Regions from separate parts of the Homo sapiens genome. Here region 2 is linked to region 1. The links are contacts of gene promoters, found by promoter capture Hi-C in blood cells and fetal thymus (Javierre and others, 2016). All regions are on one chromosome and are shown on one strand. Each heading gives the region's core, a stretch centred on a gene start or on the middle of the fragment in contact. The rest is flanking DNA. Distances are from core to core; before and after follow the strand shown.

Region 1 (5,175 bases), core at 22-2,521:
ACGGCTGCAGCTTTGCCCAAAGCAACGAAAACGGTGCCTCAGGCTACATTTTAAGTTCCCAGTTCCCGTGAAAGGCCGACGCTTGCAAAACACAGGATTGACGCTGGGAACCCAAGGGGAAGGAAAGGTGGAAAGCATGATGAGGGAAGAGCAAGCTTTCTCAGAACCTTGGTGGGCAGCCTGGCGAACATCCACACGCACACACACACTCGGGAGCGCACGGACGAGCTGCCTTCTCCAAGGCCACTCAAACGTCCCAACCACTCTCGGGCGCGCAAGTCCAAGCGCGGGAGCCAGGACTTACCGCCAAGACGCTCTGGGCGAGGAACCCCACGGTCACTGTCCCCAGCAGCAGCCACCTGCATGGGAAAGGGAGGAAGAGAGACGTGAACGTGCGGGCCCGGCTTGTCAGTCCCCGAGAGTTACACCGAAGGGTCCATGCGCGCGTGACCCACGGGGACCAGGCAGAAAGTCGCTTACCGCCGTAGGGCAGGGCCGGCCACCGCGCGCTGGTCTCTCCCCATGCTGGCGGTTCGTCCACTCTGGGCCCCGGTCAGTCCCACTTAGCCTAGAGGCGACAGACAAAGCGAGTTTAGCGCAGGATGAGGGAGGCAGCCCATCCTCACCGCCGGTCTCGGTCCGCGAGACGCGGGGACAGCGCGGTGCGCGGCCCGCATGCAGGGGTGACCGGAGGGCCGTCCCCCCCACGACCCGGAAAGAAGGAGAGCCTCCCGTTAGGCCCCTGTGGGTGCTCCTTGGCCGAGGAGCTCGGTCTTCGCTCTCCCACCCTCCCCCTTTCTACTCCCAAGCAGGAGAGCGTGCAGCCCTAGCCTGCACAAGGCGCTCCAAGTCGGTGCTCTCGGGCCAGGGTCTGGGCGCCGCTCGGGGGTCGCTCTCACCTCGGGCTCGGCTTCAGGGGCTGCTGCCCGAACGCATTGGCCCTTCCAGAAGCACCCGCCGGCGGCACACCGGCAGGGCGGCCGGCCTTGCTGGGCTCTCTGGGCGCCGGCCCCGGGGGCTCGGGCGGCCCCTTTCGGTCCTCGGCCTGGATCCGCGAACGCGCGGGCGCGAGGGGTTGGGACGCGGGAGCCTCTTGAGTGCGGAGCGCGGAGCCCTGGTGTCCCGGCGCACTGCAGCCACACTCCCGGGCCGCGCGCTCCCGCCGCCTCTTACCCGCGCCGCAGGGTCCTCCCCTTTGAGGCGCCGCCCGCGCACCGCCGGGGGGGAGGGGGCAGCGCCAACAAATTGGGGAGCTCGGCCCGCCGCGCTCAGGTCTCCGCTTGGAGCCGCCGCACCCGGGACGGTGCGTAGCGCTGGAAGTCCGGCCTTCCGAGAGCTAGCTGTCCGCCGCGGCCCCCGCACGCCGGGCAGCCGTCCCTCGCCGCCTCGGGCGCGCCACCATGGGGCCCCGGCTCAGCGTCTGGCTGCTGCTGCTGCCCGCCGCCCTTCTGCTCCACGAGGAGCACAGCCGGGCCGCTGCGAAGGTGAGTTCCCGGCCAGCTCCGCTCCCGGCGTCCCGCCCCGAGCTTGGGCGCCCCGAGAGGCCCCTTTGTCCGCGCCTGGACCCGTCCGCCTGCCCCTCGGGGGTCGCGCGTGGCACGGCCAGGTGCATTCTCTGGGCCGGGGTTCGTTGGGGGTCCCTGTAGGCTACGATCGCGCATTGGTGGACCGAGCCTCCTTTGTTATGGTATGGGTACTGGAGAGTTAAGGAATTCCTCCGGGGAAGGGAGGAGAAACAGCCCGCGCTGTGGCGGGGTGAGGGTGCCTGGGAGCCGGCGGGATTTGAACCCGCGTCGCGGGTATGCTCGGCAGCTGGGCGCCTTCACCCGTCCCGGGTGCGCGAGGGAGTTGGGGGCTGGAGGGCCGGGAGCGCCCACCCCGCGCTGCTCAGAGACCCACACTGGGAGCTCCGAGCTCCTAGCCCCTGGGAGCAGCTTTGGGCGTATTTCTCCTTGTCTGGAGACCCTGGTGGCTGAGGCTGAAAAGCTCTGGGCCCTTTGCCTGGAAACAGCTGTATCTGAGCTTTCCCACGACTGCTGCCTAAGGCGCGCTCCAAGGCAGAAGTGGGGCTCTTCTGGACGCCCGGCTTGAAGAAGCCACCATCCTCAACTCGTTGCCTTCTATTAATATATATTTTAAAAAATTATAACCACATTCATATTTGAGCATGAAACCAAAGTGAAACTCCATGTCATTGTTCCATGCACAAATTGTTTTTCTAGTTTTCATTTCCTTTGGTTATGTGCTTGCCCAGAAAGGATCTGGGAGATCGGTTTGCAGGAGGTTTGCAGGAGTCGAGGCTTCCAGCCGTGGACAAGCCTGGACTGACTGTTGTTTCCTTTTTTCCTTCCCCTCCGAGAGAATAAAGACTTCAGCTGTTGCTCAGTGTCACAGCCATGCAGTCCCACAGGCCGGAAGGTGTGGCTTCTGAACAGATTTTGCAGTTTCTCCCTCAAATGCTTAAAAATGATTTTTGCTACTTACCAGATTTTCCATACTTATTCTTTTACTGTTCTTAATCTTGTTCTTTGTTTTCCTCTTTAAAAAAAAATTTTACTTCTCTCCTGGAAGAATGATACTCACTAAATCCACTTAACTGTATAGAAATTGTTAACTGTTACATGCCAGAGAGAACTGGTGATATACACACACGTCTCCTAATTGAGAGCTTATCTCCCTGGAGGCAGCTTCTCCACTGGGTATTGAAAGGACTAATGATTACATCAGCAATTAACTTCAGATTGTACCTCCCAGCCCAGTCTCCCCAAACTTCATAGCCAGTTATTTAAACACTCTTTGGTAATGATGACAAAATACTTTCCAAAGAACAGGCTTGAGAGCACTTTATTTTGGTCTAGAAATATTGACCAAAAGATTGAACGCTTCCAAGGTGAGATGGTGAAGCCTGATGATGGTAAGGTAAATCAGAGAAAGTTCTTCATTGGGAAATAGGAGCTGTTTGCATTTCGATTTTCTGATGGATAATGTTAGCAAAGCAAAGAAAGCTAACTGTAAGAGCTGGCTTTCCAAACATCCAGGACTGTAGAAAGAAAGAACCACTCAGTTACGCAAATCCTGTTCTCACCCGGGAAATCAAACGCATTAATGTTGAGTTGGAGATGATTTTACTTCCCTTTAATCATTTCCTAAAGCTCAATTACATTCCCGGCCACTGTCTTTGCAGTGTCCCTTGAGGTGCCATGGACTGTTTTTAAGAGATGCAGCCTGTGGGCACTTCTGATCACAGCTGACCTCACAGATATTATCATTACTCTGTATTTTCCCTGGCTTAATTAGAGAAAAGTGCTTAATGTGCAGATGATGTATGGGTATACAAGAAAATCACTTAAAAACTGAATCTGCCTAATTTTAAAATTTGTCTCACTTTTCATGCCATCAATAACATTTTGGCTTACCTCCTTCCAAAATCAGCTGTTAGATGTACCATAACACTGAAATAGCTTCAATACTGATCCAAGCAAAACATAATTTAAAAGCACATTTTGAATGATAAGATGCTGTGGATTTGATCAGATCCTCATTCAGAAGCCAGTGGAAGTGACTGTTGGCTTACCTCTCCTTTGCACTGTCTGAATCACACTTCACCTGCATTTGTACATCCAGACATCACCTGCTGTGTGCCAGGCATGAATTGCCCTTATTGTTTTTTCTTCATGAAAGGCTGTTTAATTTTGTATTTGCTGTATCTGCTATGGTCATATTGTTTACGTACTCATGGGTGGATTTTCTAAACCATTGATTTTATCCCACGCTGAACCTACCACTCTACTCCCCGCTCCTCCCTTCCTCCACTTTTCTTCAGCAAGAAAGGAGGAATAGCTTGCAGGCTCCAGACAAACACGTGCCAGCAGTGTTCTGATTGTGAGCACCCTCTACTCTTAGTCACTCAGTTGCACTGGGCGGAATGAACCCTTCCTGCAGCAGCTTTCACACTCCCCTCTAGCTGGTTCTGTGTGATGCTTCTTAACAGATTATTTCTCAGGATTAGAAACGTGAACTTTCCCCTCAGTGTGGTGATGCTTGTCCAGCAATACTGTCATCTCCTGACCATTAGTCACCACCTCTGGGACTGAATGACCTAGAGTTCAAACTAAGTGAGATTTCATTCCCATATAAGTATGGACCATGTTCTACTGGAAATGTAGTTTAGAAGAGAAGGCTGGTTTCTGAATCAGTCCCAACAAGAGCAGCATCGCCCAGGATCTCAGGAGTGATATTGGTGAAGCTATTCCTTATATCTGCAAGCTCTTTATATTAATAGATGGAATTGGACTAGGGTGAAGGGACATAACTTTAAGACCAACCAGAAGACACAATGTTCATGTACTCTGACTAGATTCACAGAATTATCAATGCTATATATTATTAATAGTCACGTGTACACAGGATGAGTGTGCTTTAGGCACCAGAGGACCTTACATTTTATACCTGCTTTTAAGCAGATGATTTGGGGGTACTCATCAAACTCTATACCTCAGTTTCCCTGGCAGGTCTGTCCCTTCCTCACACGGACCCGTTTGTGCCTTCCTTCATTCCACACACACATCGGGAACACCTCCTTCCTGCCATGACCTTGCCAGGTGCTGGCCATGCGGCAGGGACTCACCCCCACTCTCTGTCCTCAGGAAGGTCAGGTGAGAAATATTGGAAAAGAAACAGACGAATCCAAGTCAGGCTGGTAAATGTCACAATCAGGGGAATCGAAGGGCTATAGGAACACTGAATCCAGCTTTGGGGAACTCAGAGGAAACTTCTGGGAGGGGCTTCCGCCTCTGAAATATGAGGGAGAAATAGGAACTATACACCAGCATGTCATTTCCATGTGCACTGTGATGGTGTACTATACACAGAAGACATGGTCATTCTGCCTGTCTGCTCTCAAGTCTAAGGGTCTTTGCACTGAAAGATGACCTTCAAGTTTGCTCCTTTGAGATACCAAAATGTCATTGTTTCTGTGATTAACAATCTTGGTGGCTGAACTTTGCTCTCAGAGGGGTGGAAAGAATTGGAAGGGCAGGGTTTAGGAGACCAGTGTTAAAAAAGAGCTCCCAGCTCCAACTGAGGCCCCAGTATGTGGTCCTGTCCCTTTTCTCGGAGGTGGCAGGTAGGCAGGCAGGGGATGTTTGGAAAGTTGCGGCATGGATGACTGATTCT
Region 2 (5,189 bases), core at 2,002-4,501, 1.3 Mb after region 1:
GACCAGTACTGACAGGATTTGAGTTGACAGATGAACACAAGTATTAGAGACTATGCAAATAGCTTATACATTTTTTCATAATAATGCAAACAATTGATAACATGTTACATAAAATTGGCATTCGTGGATTGTTAACACATGGTTGCAAACAGTGTTTTGTTGTTGTTGTTGTTGTTGCTGTCTTTTCCTGGTGCTAAATTTGGAATCAAGTATTCCCTCCGGGACATCTTGCAAATTTTTGTGAAGAGAAATGACATGGAGACCATCTGAACTGTAAGGATTCACAATAGCACATTGTGTGATTGAGTACTGGATCAACCAATGTTTCTAGGTATTTCTAGTGGACACAGCCAAGTAATTTAAATACACAACATAAACATGCACACACAAGCATGCACAAATACTTTTCTTTTCCATTTAAAGATAAAATACTACTCGATTCCAAATTAGGTCTTTTAACCGTGATACTTTCCTTGATCAGTGAAGTTTCACATTGGCCTTGTCAAAGGCAATTTGAGGGCCCAGCCCAGTGGCTCATGCCTGTAATCTCAACACTTTTGGAGGCCGAGGCGGGTGGATCACTTGAGGTCAAGAGTTCGAGATCAGCCTGGTCAACATGGCAAAACCTGTCTCTACTAAAAATACAAAAACTAGCCAGGTGTGGTGGTATACGCCTGCAATCCCAGCTACTCGGGAGGCTGAGGCAGGAGAATCGCTTGAACCCAGGAGGTGGAGATTGCAGTGAGCCGAGATCACGCCACCACTGCACTCCAGCCTGGGCAACAGAGTGACACTCTAGTCTCGGAAAAAAAAAAAAAAAGGCAATTTGAAAATCAAAATAAATGATGTCCATTTATGCCCTTTATTGTGTCTACATGTATCCTGTTTCTATTACCATTAAATATTTTTAAAGTTTTAATTTTGAAATAAGTTTAGATTTGTATACAGTTGTAAGAAATGATACAGATAAATCTTGTGTACTCTTTACTTAATTTCTTTCAATAGTAACATCCTGCAAAACTATCACAACCAGGATATTGACATTAATGCAGTGAAAATATAGAATATTTACATCACCACACGGATCCCGCATGTTGCCAATTTATAAACAATTTCACTTCCCCAAAATCAGTTGAGTCCCTTTGTGTGGTTCTATTTCTGTGTCCTTATTCCGTTCCATTAACCTATGTGTAACATGCTTTAAGGACGTTAAATGGAGAAGGTGAATTCCTCCCACTTCATTCTTCTTTATAAACATTGTTTTAGCTATTCTATCTTCTTTACCTTTCAATGTAAATTTTAGAATGGTATCATCTATACCTTTATATCTATAAAAATTTTACTGTGATTTGGATAGGAATGCATTAGCCTATATGTCAATCTGGGGAGAACTGATTACTATGATGATTACTATTAAATTGACACTATATTGTCTTCAAATCTATAAACATGAAATGTCTTTCTTTTTATCTAGATCTTTAATTTATTTTATCAGAATTTTGTGGTTTTCGCCACACAAGTTCCCTACATATTTTGTTAGATTTACACCTAAGTATTGCATTTTTATGAGCAATTGTAAATGTAATTGTATGGTTCACTTCAATGCCCATTGCTAGTATACAGAAATACAATTGATTTTTTGAATGTTTATCTTGTGTCTTGTGACCTTGCTAAACTCACTTATTAGTTCTTTGAGTCTTTCCTTTCTTTTTTTATGGTAGATTTCTTGGGATTTTACACAAAGGCAATTAAATAAGCACAGGTTTATTTCCTCCTTTCCAATCTGTTTGCCTTTTATGTCCTTTCTTGCTTTATTACACTTGCTAGAACTTCCAGCAGCCTATGTTAAGAGTGGTGAGAGCAGACATCCTTGTCTTGTTTCTGATCACAGAAGTAAAACATCCAGATTTCACCCTTAAATATAATATTGGCTGTAGGATTTTTGTAGAAACTCTTTATCAAGTTCAGGTTATCTTTTCCATTCCTATTTGTCTGGGAGTTGATTTTTATCATGACTGGATGTTAAATTTTATCAAATGCTTTTTCTTCATCCTGTGATATAATCATGTATTTTTTTCTTCTTTGACCTGTTGATGTGATTGATTACCTTGATAGATTTTGAGATATTGAATCAGCTGTGCATCCCCAGAAAAAGAAAACAAAAACCAAAACCGTTCTTTTTATATATTGCTAAGTTCTATCTGCTAATATATTAAACATATTTTTTCACCTATATTCATGAGGGATGTTTTTTGTTTTTAATTTTCTCTCTCTCTCTCTCTCTCTCTCTCTCTCTGTGTGTGTGTGTGTGTGTGTGTGTATGCTACTGTCTGTGTGGTTTTGGTGTTAGGATAATACTTGCTTTATCAAATGAATTAGAGAGTATTCTTTTCTATTTTCTAGAAAAGATTGTGTAAAGTTGGCTTTAATTTTCCTTAAAACATTTGGTAGAATTCTCCAGTGAAACAATCTGGAATAGGAAGCTTTTTTGAGAGACTTTAAATTACAAATTCATTTCTTAAAAGTTATGGTGCTATTCAAATTGTCTATTTCATATTGGGTGAATTGAAGTAGCTTGTGTTTTTTGAGGAATTGATCCATTCATCGAAGTCATAGAATTTATGTGTGAGAGCTGTTTGTAATATTCCCTTTGTATCTTTTTGATGTCTACAGGGCCTATAATGATTTTCCTTGTTTTATTACTGATATTGGCTATTTATGTATTTTCTATTTTCTCTTTGTCACTCATATTATAGGTTTATAATTTTTATTGGTGTTTTCAAAGAACCAGCTCTTTGTTTCATTGATTTTCTCCTTTTTTTCTAATTCCATTGATTTCTGCTTTTTTGTCATCGGTTTCCATTTGCTTACTGTGGTTTATTTTGCTCCTACGTTCCTGAGATGGGAGCTTAGATTATTGGTTTGAGATTTTCCCTATTTTCTAACGTACGCATTTAGTGATATACATTTCTCATTCAATACTATTTTAGCTGTGCCACACAAGTTTGACATGTTGTACTTTCATTTTCATTAGGTTCAGCATATTATTTTTAATTCTGTCACGATTTCCCCTTTTATCCATGGATTATTTGGAAGGGCACTGTTAAGTTTCCAAGTATACAGAGATTTGGCTGTTTTCTTCCCGTTATTGATTTCTGGGTTGATTCCATTGTGGTAGGCAAACCTACTCTGTATAATTTCAATTCTTTTGAGTTTGCTTAGTTTTGCTTTACGGCCGAGCAGATAGTCCATCTGGACACATGTCCCATGGGTACTCGAAAAGAATATGAGTTCTGCTTTTGCTGGTGGATGTGTTTATAAATATTGACTAGATCCTATTGGTGATGGTGTTGTTCAGTTCTCCTGCACCCTTGCCGATTGCCTATGTCATTGTTTTACCAATTGTTGAGAGGAGGGTGTTGAAGTTTCCAGCATCACTTTCTGTCTAGCTGGCTCCTTCCAGCACTTGGCAAGAGAAGGAAGGCACAGCCTCACTACTGCCTTGTCAGAGTAGATGTCTAGGTCCCTACCCAGCCTCCTCTGATATGCAAGAAGAATGAATCCTCATTATTTCTGGGTGAAGATAAAGGCTCTACCTCTCCACTAAGCCTCCAGTCATTCTTCCCTGGCTGTGGGATGAGCAGTGGAATGGGCTGAAACACTTCTTTACTGCTTCCTACATAGCCTTCATAAATTGGGTAGTGGGGTATTATCTCTGCACAGTGCTGGAAGTCCTAACCCCCTACCAAGCCTCCTTTGATATCATCACAGTGGCAGGGAGCTAGGAGAAAAATATCCATTTAGAATCTTAGCACAGTAATAAGATCCTAAATAAACCTATGCATTGAAAAATTGTGCACACTAAAAGGAAAACTGTAATTTCAATAAATATAACTAAAAAGATTCTTTAAAATTTTGATTTAAAAAATATAACAAATTTGATTCTAAAAAAAAAGTATAATCTGGACTAAGACAGCCCGAATGTTTTCTTTTTGTCTTAAATGAATACAAAAGCTTTGTATTCATCAGGGTTCTCCAAATGAATAGAACCAGTAGTATAGTATAATATATATAGTCTGAGTTATTGGCTCACATAATTATGGGGGCTGAGAAGTCCCACAATCTGCCATCTGCAAGCTGGAGACCCAGGAAAGTCGACAAGGTAGTTCGAAAGCCTGACAGCCAGAGAGCCAATAGTGTAGATTCCAGTCTAAGTCAGAGGGCCCGAAATCCAGGAGTACCAAGGGCAGGAGATTGATATTGTAGCTCAAGCAGTCAAGCAGAGAGATTTCAACCTTCCTCTCTTTTGCACTATTCAGGCCCTCAAGGGATTAGGTGGTGCCCACCCACCCACTTGAAGCTAGCGAGGGCAACAGCTTAATCAGTCTACTGATCAAATGCTAATCTCTTCCCAAAACACCTCGAAGACACCCTCAGAAATGATGTTCAAGCAGCCATCTGGGCATCCCATGGCCCAGTGAAACCGACACATAAGTTAATCATCACAACCTGGGAGTTAATTCTGAAGAAAAGAGGGAAATGGAAAAAAAATATCTAACTTGATGATCGATCATGTTGGATCCCTGATAAATCCTCACTGTCTACAGAAATATGTACATTTTGCCTAATTAAATCCTTCGCTTTACAGCATTTTCCCATTTTCCCCATTGTACTCCCTACTTTCCTCTACCCTACTCACAGATTCCTCCCTTGCCATCACTGCTGCTTTTCCTTTCAATAAACTCCTTTCCAGCTTCTCCAGCAACCAAGGCCAACTCTGCCTTTCTAGGCCCAAGTCTCTGAGAGGCATCAAGCTGTTGTCAAAAGTGCATTGGCCTTGCTCAGTGACATACCTTCTGGAGTCCAGCTTCAACAAGCCCCAGGGCCTGGATAACCAGGGCAAGTTACTGAGTTTCCAAGGCTTCTCATCTACAACACATAGGCAGTAATGCTGACCTCTCTCTCTAGCTCTTTCTTCCTATCTCTCCCATTCTTTCTCTCTCTCTCTCTGTGTGTCTCTCGGTGGCTTTGGAGATAAATAAAAAGGCTTGTTCCTACCTACCTTTGCATAGTTTTTACTATAGTTTTCTCATGAATATCCCTAATTGATGTTTCTAATGCTCACCTGTACCTTCTTCTTTGCCGTTTTCCAGAGTTTTATACATGACTTACTTGAGAAGGACTCATGG

What was found. The method cuts DNA at HindIII sites, captures the fragments that hold promoters and counts their contacts. A CHiCAGO score of 5 or more calls a contact.
Region 2: a contact is called between a fragment that was not itself captured here and the fragment with the promoter of COL4A1 in region 1, in 1 of 17 cell types (monocytes). The highest score is 5.5, in monocytes.

Annotation. Positions count from the first base shown.
Region 1 is chr13:110,303,253-110,308,427 of GRCh38, reverse strand. COL4A1 (collagen type IV alpha 1 chain) reads left to right here and starts at 1,271. Exons shown (of 52, transcript NM_001845.6): 1 at 1,271-1,484. The coding sequence starts at 1,401. It overlaps COL4A2 (collagen type IV alpha 2 chain), which reads right to left and starts at 1,144. Exons shown (of 48, transcript NM_001846.4): 1 at 900-1,144; 2 at 481-568; 3 at 305-359. The coding sequence starts at 524. RefSeq lists enhancers at 1-681, 682-1,515. The HindIII fragment of the contact is 7,261 bases long and covers 158-5,175 here.
Region 2 is chr13:109,037,493-109,042,681 of GRCh38, reverse strand. All of the region lies in intron 23 of MYO16 (myosin XVI), which reads right to left. Among named protein-coding and RNA genes, the nearest start is that of MYO16-AS2, 62 kb to the left of the region's middle. The HindIII fragment of the contact is 1,531 bases long and covers 2,486-4,016 here.